Regions from separate parts of the Homo sapiens genome. Here region 1 is linked to region 2. Evidence: promoter capture Hi-C in 16 types of primary human blood cells and fetal thymus (Javierre and others, 2016). All regions are on one chromosome and are shown on one strand. The core of a region is centred on a gene start or on the middle of the fragment in contact, and the rest is flanking DNA. Distances in the headings are between cores, read along the strand shown. Region 1 overlaps WDR33 (WD repeat domain 33). Region 2 holds the start of MYO7B (myosin VIIB).

Region 1 (7,264 bases), core at 382-2,881, 190 kb after region 2:
AATACATAAATAACACATTTTAAAAAATTTTAAGAAACAGGATTCTTTTGGAAACTAGTCTTCTAGCATAGCAACAGGAAATGGCGGTGTTTGTCAGACCATGGGAGAGCCCCTTCCCTTTTCCTTAAGAGCCTATCAATAAAAATGTCACCACTACCCTCTTAGATCATCTTGAATTCCCCCCTACAGAGCTTCACACACCTCCAGAAGTTGTGGGTTAGTATATTGTAATGTAGCCATTTCTTGCTCAATTTCTGCTTGTGTTTTTTTCTTCTCTTCCAATTTAATGTCTTCTTTTCTGTCATTCAGCACCTCATTTGGAGCAGGAATTGGAACTTTATTTTGCATCCAAGCCTTGGGAAAGAAGAGAATATTAAAATGTACGCTAAGTATGAAAATTACAATGATAGAATGAGAAAACCACTCTACAATGTCATCTGCTCAATCTAACCTCTGAACCGATTTTATTTCTTTTTACCTTTTCTCCATGACTCAAGTACATGACTCATGCTAATTCTTACTGACATATTACTAGGTAGAAATTACTATGGTGATAAAAGCTGCAAGACACTGCATGTTATTAAGAATGCAAAGCTTGCCAGCCTCTTCACAGGGTACATGCACTTTGTGTTGAGGGGACAATTAAAGCACAAGATAGATAAACAATGGAGAAGAGAAGCAACATACTCCCATACTCCCTCTGCTCCATGCCTCTTTCTTCTATTTCCTCTCATAGCATGGATGATAATAAGCAGGTGAGGACAGAACAGAGAAGACTGATAACAAACTCAATACAACTGCAAAGCAGTAGATGAGAACCATGTCTAAGAGTACGTGAACATGGGAAAAATGCTCCAGTACAGAAACACCTTCAACAGTGAGATAATCCAAGAGAAACCTCAAACTAACCAACCAAAACCTCTCTGCGTGGATGAGGTGGAGTCACTTTTACTTACCTGCTGGAACTGAGCAGGAATGGGTTTTGCATAAGGAACTTTCTTCTGAGGTACTTTTTTCTGATCCTTTTGCATCACTTCCTCCATTCCCCAATCTAAACCTGGAATTGTCATTTCAATTTCATTTGATTCATCTTTCCCTGTAACCGTAAAGAAAAGTGGTTTGCCTCTTAAATAAAAGAAATTGGCCACTTGATCAATGAACACATTATTGGAAGAATAGATTTTAAGTATTATGTCATTTATATAATTTTTATCAACATTTCTCAACATAAATCATTTTGGTATTTCAATATATTTATCAGGAACATAAACGGGTCAAGAAAAAATTTGTAAAAATTAAATGTGTCTGTGTAACTTCTCTTACCCATCTGTTCTTGTTCCATAGCTAATTTTAGTTGTTCTGGTATTCCCATTCCTGGAATTACTGCCAGGCTATTAGGTTCGAGGTCATCTATAAATAGTAATACACCATTGTCAATAGAGAATTTACAAAAGTAGCGACTGATAAAATTAATGCTTTATAAAAATGAATGTCACTGATGATTTATAAATAAATCTACTATAAAATTAAAATTCATTTTGTATAATCTTCCCAACATCTAACACTTCTGTAATAGAATACCAGATTTCAAAGAAGGACAGATGTGCAAGAGTCTCACCATATTCTACTCCATCTTCAGACATTCCAGGTAAAAGGTTTAGATTATATCGATCTCGCATTTTATCACCTGGTCGGTTTCGAGTCCAGAATTTGCTGTAAAAATAATTAAAGGAGAAAAGAAGCATGGCTTCACTATTTTTTTGGGCACTAAACAGTACTAGGCAGACCCTTGGTAAACACAACACATTTTTACAATTTGTTTCTTCTACAAATTTAAAATGTGAGGTCATACACTTTGGCTCACATCTGTAATCCCAGCACTTTGGGAGGCTGTGGCAGGAGGATTAAGTCCAGGAGTCCAAGACCAGCCTGGGCAACATAGCGAAACCCTGTCTCTACAAAATAAAAATTAAAAAGTTAGCTGGGTGTGGTGGCACACACCTGTAGTCTCAGCTACTCACGAGGATAAGGCGGGAAGATGGCTTGAGCCCAGGAGTTTGAGGCTACAGTGAGCTGTGATCTCACCACAGAACTCTAGTCTCGGTGACAGAGTGAGACTCTGTCTCTTAAAATAATAATAAAAATAAAAATAAAATGTGGGGCCGGGCAAGGTGGCTCATGCCTGTAATCCCAGCACCTTGGGAGGCTGAGGCAGGAGGATTGCCTAAGCCCAGGAGTTTGACATCAGCCTGGGCAACATGGTGAAACCCCATCTCTACAAAAAATGCAAAAATTAGCCAGGTGTGGTGGTGTGCTCCTATAGTCTCAGCTACTCAGGAGGCTGAGGTAGGAGGATCACCTGAGCCCAGGAAGGTTGAGGCTATAGTGAGCTGAGACCGCACCATTGCACGCCAGCCTGGACAGAGACCCTGTCTCAAATAAATAAATAAATAAATAAATAAAAGTGGAAAACTTCTGTTTTAAGTCAGAAGGCAAAACAAAATTTGAATAGCCAAAACCATATTCAATACCCAATCTCTTTATTGCAATATAAGTATTTGTAAACCACTACAAAAATATTCCCAAGAATAAGTTGGAATATAAATTACTATATCAATCAACCAATAAAAATAAACACATACAGTATTTATTTCCTGTTGCTCCATATAAAGCTTTGCTATTTCAATATAAAGCTTACCTAGTATGGTCATTTGAGCCTGAGCAGAGAATATGCCCAAGAGGATGCCAAGCCAGACTCCAGATCATCCCTTCGTGAGCCATCTCCATCCCACCCACTTCCTTCTCTACCCTGCAACAGCACCAAAGAGAGAAGATTTGTTCACAAAAGTTACCCAGCTTCTCCCTCCCCCTCAAAAAAGACATTTTCTGTTACTCTTAAAATGAAGCTACCAAAGCCTGGACTTGGACTCTGGTGAATTCCACATGTCTCGGGGTATTGGCTTGTCATTGCCAAAGGACAGTTACCCTTTCATCCAAAGAGCACTTCACAGGGGAAAAGGCTGCAAGCATTTAGAAACTAGAAAATCTATTTTATTCCTCCTTAATGACTTCCATATCCACAAACAGAGGTACATTTTCTATTCCAAGCTGGATTTACAGAACTGAAAACTGCAAGCAGTCTCTGATATAGGATATATGAACACTTAGAAAAGCTACAAAACTATCATGTCTGCACACATTCACGTGCTCTCTTCACAAAATACACTACTTTTTCACATAAATCTTACATACCCAACATGCCAGAATAACAAAGAACCATCAGACCCTCCACTGGCAAAAAGTCCTTCATGAACAGGATGCCAGGCCACAGCTGCAGAACAAAAACATGGGAAAAGACACAATTATCAGGATCTGAGAATGTTACAGGTAACAGTGGTCAATGAGAAGCATATCACAGCCACTGACCTGTGGCTTCTTTCTTATGACCTCGGAAGACTTGAAGCTCTTCTTTTAGGTTTCTGATATCAAAAAGTTTACAGAGATGATCACGTGATGCTGTGAGTAGCCAATTGCCATTGAGGTTTAATTTCACTTCCATTACTGTGTTTTTATGGGCATGACTAGAAACAAAGTATCAAAAAAAAATGTCAGAATTCAAAACAAGTATAAATACAATGGCCATTTTTGTTGAAAAGCGAATTAATCAAGATGGCAAGAGGTTTGGCCTAGAAGCAATAAAGCCTGTAACATTAAAGGATCACAGTTATAAACACACTTGAAAGAAACAAGTCAACGACAGAAATAATATGCACTGCCCAGACAAAGACAGCTCTCATCAACCAGTTAAAAAAGCAGCAGAGGCTGGGCGTGATGGCTCACGCCTGTAATCCCAGCACTTTGGGAAGCCTAGGCGAGTGGATCACCTGAGGTCAGTTCAAGACCAGCCTGGCCAACATGGTGAAACCCAGACTCTACTAAAAATACAAAAATTAGCCAGGCGTGATGGCGCATGCCTGTAGTCCCAGCTACTCAGGAGGCTGAGGCAGGAGAATCACTTGAACCCAGGAGGCAGAGGTTGCAGTGAGCCGAGATTGCACCAATGCACTCTAGTCTGGGTGACAGAGCGAGACTCTGTCTCAAAATAATAATAATAATAATAATAATAATAATAATAATAATAATAATACAGTAGCAGAGCTTCCACTGAACAGTAAAATTTATCCGTGAAGCAGGGGAAGCACATGAACACAGAAATTAATATTCAATAAAGCTCATTACATTTTGAAACTTCCATAAAGTTTCTCTAATTAAGACAAAGCATAAAAATGGACTGGAAAGTCTGAAAGTTAATTTGAACTAAAGACAATGCAACAACCCCTGGCCTGCACAATGGATATCTCCAAGGGAGCATTCACAAGGCATTCCAGGTTGGCATGGTCATTGGGGTTGTACAACAAAGCAGCCTTGCTCCAACCAATTCACTCTGAATATGGTTCTCTTCCCAATCAGAAAGACCAGGAAATGGATGCTTGGTCAAAAAAATGTTAACATATGCATGTAGCTGTGAATGTTCACAAATAACTGAAAGAGAAAACTAGATTACATAGCTGCATCGTAAGTAAGCCCATCAGACAAAAAATGAGAAGTGGTTCAAAACCAGAAGAAAACCCTCTCGAAACAGATGTTGTGAGATGGAGAAGGCTGGGCCGTGTCTAGTAAGGGGCACACACGTCAACTCCTCACAGTGCCACAAGGTATTCTGATGACAGGCAATAGGCTAGAATAGTAACCACCTCCCTCCTCATCCTCCTCCCCACCCGTATATAACAACCAAATTAAACTTAGGTCTATGTGGCAGGACAAAAACAAGCCTTACTTCATTAAGAGTTCAGAGATGAATCATATTTAATTCATAAGAAGTCTATAGATCCAAGTCCATCTGTTGCCTAAATGACTCTTCCAGAAATACATAAGAGAAAACAAAGCTAAAAGTTAAAGGACACACTGCTTTGCTCCCCTTTGTTCAGGGGCCAAGGTGGGGTTCCTGTCACTTACAGTGTTGCAAGACTCTGCCCAGTCTTGGGATCCCAGAACTTGATTGGCTGTTGACTATCTTTACTTCCTGAAACAACTAACCCTTTGGTTGGATGCCAGTCTACACATTTCACATCAGCACCATGCCCTGTCGGAAACAAGTTAGGATTAAAACCTAATTAGTTACATGCATTTAAAGCAATTTAAACCAAAGTAGAGAAACCTAGTAAATGTTTTGCTCTCAGTGCTCAGTCAACTTAAAACTTGTTTTGTGAAGACTCTTTGGCCTCTGTGTGTCTGGAAATTTTTCAGATACAGTATCCTCTCCTCCTATGTCAAGACACACAGGAGCCAGTCCTCTCCTGGACCCAAGTGCATCTTCTCACCTACTTGCCGGGAGGTCAGTCGAGGCTTTTGGAGGCTGCACCCCTCAAGACCCCATTATGTAAAGATTTTGAAGTGTCTCATGTTGTTCCCGATTACCCTGATTATAGGGCACAATCCCTGTCACTCACTTCAGTTGTCCCACTTTGTGATAGTTCTTACAGACGAACTTGATTCAACCTGAATTTAGGACTTTGGGACCACCATTTAGGAATTTAGGACACCACTTTCTAGATGGAATGACAGGAAAAGCCAGCTTTCAGCTCCTGTTTACTGAAATGCAGGAGAAATACACTCTGCTTGATTCGCACATGTTGTGACAGTTAGATGAGGTAATAATAACAGCTATCCTACTGCAGGCCTGCTATATTTTAGGCAGTGTAATGAGCACTTATAAGCATCATCTTTTTAAATCTTCACAAAATCCTGAGGAAAGTATTAGCATTATCTCCATTTTACAAGTGAAGAAACAGAAGGGCTGGAAGGGTTAAATAACACATCCTAGATCCCAAAGCCAGTCAGCAAGAACAGGAGAGAGTCCCTGAGCCTGGTCCATGGGATTCCAAGGATGGTTACTTCAGTAACCACCGTGCTAGAGCATTAGCTCACTTCACAAGTGTAATAGATTAACTTACTAAAAGTCATAAACGTGAAAGTCAATTTGTAAATTTGAAAAAAATGGATATGATTTTTGAAAAACTGGATGCTGTACAAAGCCCCAAGGATATTTTACATAACAAATAAACTAAGAAGCAGATGAGGAGTGAGGAAGAACATTCAGAGCTTCCTTCTCTACCCTGGATCAAATCCAGCTTCTGTGAAGTTCTGAGGTGGAAACAAGGAAGGATACAGAAGAATACAGACAAAGGGAAGTGAAGTGGGAAAGAAGAGACGGGGTAGAGGCACCGACAGTGATTTGTACCCGTTCATAAGGGGAGACAATTTGGGTCTCAAATGGACATAGGTTTATCCCAACACAATACCCCGTACTGGCAAGCATGTAGGGAGGTGACAACAATCTGGAGAACAGTTTGGCTGTATGTATCAAAAGTATGAGAAAGTACATCTCCTACAACCCAATAATCTCATGTCTTAGATTTTATCATTAGGAAATAATGGATGTGCAAAGGGATTTATCTGCAAGGACATTTACTGACACAATTTGTTTTTAATAGAACACAAATATATTACAAAATAAATTGCAGTGTGGCATATGTACTTAAAGGAATGTGATGCACCTATTATAAATGACCCTATAGATGATTTAATGGCATGATTAAAATGTTCATAATTTATTTTAAAAAAATACACCAGTGTATACCATCACTGTAAAAGGCAAACAGTCAATAACATGAGTGACTGTGTGAGCTTATCTAAATTAAAGAAAAAAGCCAAGAAGTCTAGACACCGAATTGTTAACAGAAATAATATTAAGCTGGAAGGTGGTATTGATTCTCTCTCCCCATGTTTATTCTATATTTTTATATTTTCTACAATGAACATATTTTGTAACTGGGTGGGAAGGGGGAAGAGAGGTTTTGCTGTTGCTTTGTCTTTTAAAAAGAAAAATAACTGAAGATGGAATAATTGAAATATAAAAATACTTCAGTCCCCCTTGCCCCTTGTTTGCCTTAAGAAATTTTAATTAACTATTTGCCCCTGAAAAGGTAGGGAATTTTAAAACTCTATGGGCCATTGTCACCTAAAAATAAATATTATGTATAGCTATGTATGCATTAATCAATCAAATTTGGGATTATGAGAAATGCCTGAGAAAGCAGTTTCAAATTACAATGTACAATATGAAAAGTTCATATTCTTAACAGCCGTCTCTATCTACCCTCATCTTCTCTGGGACACGTTTATTACATAAAGAACGTATGTC
Region 2 (7,036 bases), core at 2,182-4,681:
CTAAAGAGTAGTTCAGTCGCAGAGGTCTGTGCTGCCAACCTTGCTGTTTCATAGGGTTAATGGATAATTTGGCTGCTGTAGCCTAGATGGGAATATTAGGGCCACCATAAGCAAGTGACTTCAGTTAGCTCTATGATATGCTGGTAGAGCTGAAGCGAAAGGCTTGCTCTGTGTCAGTCGCTGTGATGACGCTATAATGGGCTTGGTCACTGACAGGAATGGAATGAACCATAGGTTGTCCATGGGCGCATTTCAGCTCAGCTCACAAACATGTTTTTCAAGGTTAGCTGAATATTTGCGTCTTGGGAAATGAGCACTACGCTAATTGTGGAAGTAGCACTGGGCTGGGAGACAGCCAAGCCTGGTCGCCCGTGTTACCAGGAAGAGCCTGCCCTGCCTTTCCCCAACCCATCTTCTTGATTTCCAGGGCTTGGGGTCCCTTGGCTATGGAAAGCCTGAGGCTCCAGGAGAACCATGCCTCAGGGTGTCCCCCTTTGCACCAACTCACACAGCAATCAGACCAGGTCCTTGCAATCATAGGCGCAGTTTTGACTGGGAGGGAGGACTTGGCATGCCACTTGAGAAATATTAGCAACCAAAAATTCATGCCCACTGTTCTTCCATAGTGGAAGATCTTCTTCCAGAGATCCCACTGGAATCTTCCATAATGACAAAATGCAAACAACGCTGAGAGCACAGATATGTTCATTGCAGTATTGTGTGTGACAGCAAAGGATTGGGTACCTCCCAGGGTCCATCCAGGGAGGATGGGTATACAAATGATGGGGCACTTGTGTGACATACTGTCACGCTGTTTCTAAAGACCAATGGTAAAAGTTTGGTACAGTGTCAGAAAGTTCTTGTGATATAATGTGTAACATAAAATAGAGAGAGACAGAGAATAGCAGGTCAGTATCTAAAATGTGTTTCTGTCAAATTTTGCATAAGGTGAGAACTGGATGGGAACATCTTACAGATTGTTTTGGTCCACACAGATTTTCTGTCCCAATATTTTCTTACATGAGGGCAGTAGAAAAGGTCCGAAGAGGACTCAGTCTCAGCCCCAGAGCAAGGGGTTCACCATCTCTGGGAGCTGCCAGGAGCAGCAGCGTCAGCCCTAGAGGAGCTAAATGGTATCTTTCTAAACCCGAGAAACCATGTGCAGCATGAAGCTCAAAAAGGCTGAGTGTGGACCCAGAAACCGAACCAAATTTTAGGGAGCAGGAGGCTAGTCAGAGCAAGGGCAGAACTTGGGGGGCTGTTCTAGGGGGAACAGGCGGGACAGGGGGCCGCCTGAAAGACTCGGAACATGCAGCTCCCTCCAAGTGGTCCTTCAAGGGATCTCCCAGCTTGGTTCCCTGTCTTTGGGATGGGCCATTTGGTTTTAAGATACAGAAACTCCTTCAAGCCATGTCAACAAAGAGAACATTTAATAGACGGAAACTGGGGACTCCATGGAGCCCACCCACAGGAGGCACAGGAAACCCTGAGGCATCGGGGGTCTCCTCCTGTCTCTGGAGCCACTGGGTCTCCACCTCTGCAGCTTGTCCACCTCTCCTTTTCTCTCCCACCACCGCTTGGTCTGTGTCCCCACGAAAGGTCCATGTTCAGGGTTGCCACCCTGCCTTGACCTCAGTTCTAAAAGACGATGGCTCATTCCCACATTTCTGCCTGCAGTTCCCAAGTCCCTCCAAGTCCAAGGAAAAGAAAGGAATCTGATTGGCTCTAGTTGGGCCAACTGTAAGGATGACCAGACCCCTTTTTTACCCAACACAAGGCCTGTGGCTGACCAGGTAACTACCTGCCCCTATTATCCACCCGCCTTCAAAGCCTTGCATAAATGAGCTCCCCTCGCCCTCCTGCTCACTTCCAGGGACTGCCTGGCCCCTCCAGTCTGACCCCACCCAGGGCCCACTGCGGTTGCACTTCCCTTCTAAACAGTCTGTATTTGCCTTAAGCCCAAATCCCCCTTGATCAAGTGCCAGCCCAAGCCTGCCCAATTTGTTGCCAGGTACCCTCCTGGGAACCTTGTTGTCTGATGGCCTTTGTCTCTAAGGCTTCCTGATGGCCCCAGACATGTCCCAGGTGTATGCTCCTTTCACACTCAACACAGAACACTCTCTTGACCAGGTGTCCAAGCAGTTCTCCAGCAGACTCCGTCTGGATGTCCTATAATTCAATTCAATCAGACACTGTCAACCTGGAGTCATAGATCCCACAGGTTAAGGGCTCAGTCCCACAAAACTGCCCCACTTCAAATGCAGTCTCAAGTCCTAGGTTGCCACCTATACTTCTGACCAATTGGCTATAAATCGGGGTTCCCATGCCCCACACCTGAGGTTGGATTTGCTAGCATAGCTCATGGAACTCAGGACGGCACTCATATTGACCAGTTCGTGGGAAAAGATTTTACAAAGGATTACAGATGAGCAGCCGAATAAACACGCACAGGTGAGTTGTGTGGGAAGGTCATGGAGCTTCCATGCCCTCTCCCGCATGCCACCCCCCAGGGACCTCAGATGTGTGGAAGCTTGTCAAATCTTGTTCAAGAGTTTTACCTTCCCAGAGGTCAGTAGGCGGGGCTGAAAGTTCCAACCCTCTATTCACTAGGTCTTTCTGGTGACTGACCCCATGCTGAGGCTAGGTAGGGCCCCCACATGGTCACCTCCTCAGCATAACTTCAGGTGTTATCAAACGGACTCATTATGAGATGATCACTTGGGAAATTTTTTGTTTGTTTGTTTGTTTGAGACGGAGTCTCGCTCTGTCACCCAGGCTGGAGTGCAGTGGCCCGATCTTGGCTCACTGCAAGCTCCACCTCCCCGGTTCACGCCATTCTCCTTCCTCAACCTCCAGCTGGGACTACAGGCGCCCGCCACCACGCCCAGCTAATTTTTTTGTGTGTGTGTTTTTAGTAGAGATGGGGTTTCACCGTGTTAGCCAGGATGGTCTTGATCTCCTGACCTTGTGATCCGCCTGCCTCGGCCTCCCAAAATGCTGGGATTACAGGCGTGAGCCACCATGCCCGACGATCACTTTGGAAATTCTAAGGGTTTTAGGAGTTCTGTGACACCAACCGGGAACAAGGACCAAATATACTGTATTTTATATTATACTACCACCCTCAATTAGAGCTTGGGGTGCTTGGGGGCAGAGCTCCTGCCATGCAGCACCTGGGAAGATGCTGAGCCCCCGGATGGTCAGCTGACTGTCACCATGGGATCTGGCTGGTGGCCAGAGCAGGTGCACAGACTGCAAACCCTGGTGGCCTCCGGGCAGCATGCATCGCTGCTCTGCAGAAGGGGCCTGGGTTAAAGAGCAGGTATCATGAGGCTCTGCCAGCTGGGGCTGAGGGAGGCGTGTGGGAGTGGAAGTGCCTGGAGCCCAGGGACAAAGTCCTGTAATAAATTACGTGGGCCCAGAGTGCTCCCAGTCATTTCCTCTTGGAGCCCTACCTCTTCTTCCTCTGTCCCTTACTCCCTGACACACCCGGAGTCCCAACATTGCCTCCTTTCCTGGCTCTTTCAGGGTGCCCAGGGTGGAGGGGAAGGGGAGTCAGCCAGACCCCCATCCTGACAAGGTAAGGGCGTGCCGGGGGCGTGTCTGCCAGCGGGGAGTAGGGGGTCACCTCTCTGAAGAGGGTCGCTGGGCAGGAGGCAGGTCCCCTGGAAATAAGATGGAACAGGTCTGAGGGATAGAGAGTGGAGAAGCCCTTCAGGAGCCTGGAAACCAGAAACCGCAGCAGGGGACTCAGTCCATCGGGCTGAAGGGCAGCACCTGGGGGGCTGAGGAGGAGGAGGAGGGGGAGAAGCTGTCTAGCCCTCTGCTGTAGAAGGGCAAACTCCCTGCAGGAGGGGAACGGCAGGTGCCAAGGCTGCTCCCACCCTGAAGCCTCCTCACAGCTAGAGGGCCTCACTGTGGAATCATGGGACATCATGGATAGCCTGGGTCCCATGATGAGCCCCTGCCAGATGTCAGCTGTGCCGTGTGTGACATCCCACTGCGTCCTCGCAACACAGTGGTGGAATTGCCTCCATTTTATGGACACAGAGACTGAGGACCATGGAAGCGAAGGTGCCCACGGGAAGAAGCAGAGCCGGATTCGACTCCAAAGCCCAGGCTTATCCGCCTTACCCATGTACCTTGGGCAATTGGCTTTAGTCACCTCTGGAAGGCTGGGACCCTAGGGAGAGGCAGGACAGGTCTGGGGTGTGGTGGGGGGGGGGGTGGGGGAAGAGGTGGCTGAGGAGAGGGACCGCACCGGGGCTCACATGGGCTGTCCCCCTTGAGCTGTCCAGGTGGTGTGTGTCCCATCCCCATTTCACAGAGGACGAAACTTGAGACACAGAGATTGTGAGAGCTGGCCCAGGTCAGACAGCTGGTGGGTGTGGGGCCCCCAACCCAGATCCCCCAAATTCTCCATGACGAGGCCTCCCCTTCAGGCTCCACTTTGTAACCCTGGACTTGAATTTTGCTCTAATTTATCAGAACCCTGCACTTTGTTTAGGATTTTAGTTCAGAGATTCACACACACCCTCAGTGAATCATTGTTAGGAACCACTCAGCTCATCAGCCCACCCCATCTCCCTGGACCTGCTGGGGGCCCTACGTCTGTCCTCAGATGCCACCTCTAAGAGAATCCTCCCCAGGCGGCTGTCTTGGGGCCTGCTGCATCCACAGCTCTAGCACGGGGCTCTGTGGAGAGGCGGCACCACAGGGATGACCTATATGTGTTGATATTGCTTCCTGTTTTACATATGTCAAAAGACAAAATTATAAAAAATTTATCTTAAAGATCTTAATTGGCTTTTATTTGCAATTCTAGAATTGGGCAACACCCCACTTATAGAATACAATGAATGATCTGATGAGCCGAGCAGAGGAGTTTGGCTTTATAGACAGAATGGGGCTGAGAGAAACAGAAAACAAAAGGGGATTAGTCATTTCAATTTATTTTCCTTGTAAAGGATAGAGCTGAGGGAACTTCCTTATCATGCCCGCTGAAACTGGCCTGTCTGGGGCTCCAGCTATTGTCTCTCTCCTGATTCTTGGAAGGTCAGATAACCTTCGTTTGGGCCTGGTGGTGTGGAACTTCAGCATGAGTGACTCCATTTTGGTCTGGTCTGTTGGCCTTGTGTAGGAGCTCAGACAAAACCAATGGCCTCCATACATTTTACTTAACACATGTATTTAAATGATGTTTGTGTGCCCATTCTTGGTCCACATACCAAGCTGTTCAGGGAGGAAGAGCCAGAATCTTAGCACATTTTTCACAGAAGAGATGAAGAAGGGTAAAGGAGACTGGGCATGGTGGTGGCTCATGCCTGTAATCCCAGCACTTTGGGAGGCCGAGGTGGGAGGATTGCTTGAGCCCACAACATGGGGAGACTCCATCTCTATAGAAGAATAAGAAGAAGGAATAGGAGGAGGAGGAAGAAGAAGAGGAGGAGGAGGAGGGGGAGGAGAAGGAGAAGGAGGAGGAGGAGAAGGAAGGATTTGACCAAGGCCACTGGACTATGAGCTCCTCGAGAGCCTGGGCTGGGTTTCTCTGGGGTTTTTCCATCTCCTGCACATGCCCAGGCCTCAGCAGAGAATGGACACTTGGCACATGCTGAATGAATGAATGGAGTAGCTAGCGGCAGAAGACGAGCTCAGGATGAAGTCAAGTTTTCAAATCCAGTGTCATTGTAGACTCTGTTGTCTGCCTTTCCAGCAGTGTGTAGTGTGTTCCTTCACTGCCAGCTGGGGAGGCGAGGCTGCGAAGGAAAAGTGACCCATGTACACCAGAGGCACAGACCTCCGGCATTGAGTGGTCAGAGGAGGCGGTCCTGGGGCTGAGGACAGGTAGGGGTGGGAAGGGATGCAGCAGGCTGTGAGGGGAGGATGGTGTGAGGATGAGGGTGGGGAACGGGGGATGTTCCAGGTGGAGGAAGTGGTAGCTGCAAAGATACAGAGCAAAGGAAGTACCAGTAAGGCTTGGGCACTGTTGGCGCCTGGCAGGGATGAAATACGGTTGAGGGGGGTGGTAAGATATGCTCTAGAACGTTCCATGATGATAGAAATGTTCTCTTCTGCACTGTCCAAAACAGTAGCCACTAGCCACAAGTGGCTGTTGAGCACTTGAAGTGTGGCTAGTGCAACTGAGGGTCTGAATTTTTAATTCAGCTCATTTAAATTTAAATAGCCACATGTGGCTAGTGGCTACCATATCGGACAGTGCAACCTAGAGGGTCTTGCTCATCAGGTTAAGAGAGAGGTGAAGTGGAATAAGCAAACGCTTTGGAGCCAAACATTTGCAGATTCAAATCTTGTTTCTTTCTTTTTTTTTTTTTGAGATGGAGTCTGGCTCTGTTGCCCAGGCTGGAGGGCAATGGCATGATCTCGGCTCACTGCAACCTCCACCTCCCAGGTTCAAGCAATTCTTCCCCCTCAGCCTCCCGAGTAGCTGGGATTACAGGCGCACACCACCACGCCCGGCTAATTTTTGTATTTTTGTAGAGATGGGGTTTCACCATGTTGACCAGGCTGGTCTTGAAATCCTGACCTCATGTGATTCACCTTCCTCAGCCTCCCAAAGTGCTGGGATTACAGGCGTGAGCCACTGCACCAGGCTCTGCAGAAATCTTGAGTCAAGAAATCTTGACTCAGTCACCTACCAAATGTGGGGCCTTAAGCCTCAGTTCCCTCTTCTATCAAATGGAGTAGCATCACTTACCTTGCAGGGTTGTTTTACAGATCAAACTAATGAGCAGGTGCTGGAAAACTTTCAGCACAGTGTCTGTCTGAGCTCCTACTCTGTTCTGGGGGCTGGGGGCAGAGTACTGAGGGTATGAAAAGGAACCACAGGGCAGTGGTTCATGCACAAGTATATGTATCTGTCAATTTCTCTTTCATCCCTTGCCTGCCTTATTCAAATACTAAACAAAACAGAGTGATATGAGGCAGCTTACAGTATACCTATAATACAACAGAATCAAAAATAAAATAAGCTGGGACGTAGGATAAATGAAGGTAGGAAAATACACTGCAGCTGGGA

Evidence for each region. Contacts are between HindIII fragments. The CHiCAGO score rates a contact against its expected background, and 5 or more counts as called.
Region 1: a contact is called between a fragment that was not itself captured here and the fragment with the promoter of MYO7B in region 2, in 1 of 17 cell types (naive B cells). The highest score is 6.0, in naive B cells.

Annotation. Positions count from the first base shown.
Region 1 is chr2:127,721,635-127,728,898 of GRCh38, forward strand. WDR33 (WD repeat domain 33) reads right to left here. Exons shown (of 22, transcript NM_018383.5): 8 at 5,017-5,143; 9 at 3,427-3,581; 10 at 3,253-3,331; 11 at 2,699-2,809; 12 at 1,619-1,713; 13 at 1,324-1,410; 14 at 957-1,096; 15 at 202-354. Among named protein-coding and RNA genes, the nearest start is that of SFT2D3, 24 kb to the left of the region's middle. RefSeq lists an enhancer at 1-928. The HindIII fragment of the contact is 2,078 bases long and covers 593-2,670 here.
Region 2 is chr2:127,532,252-127,539,287 of GRCh38, forward strand. MYO7B (myosin VIIB) reads left to right here and starts at 3,432. Exons shown (of 48, transcript NM_001393586.1): 1 at 3,432-3,580. RefSeq lists an enhancer at 3,464-4,314. The HindIII fragment of the contact is 11,396 bases long and covers 2,529-7,036 here.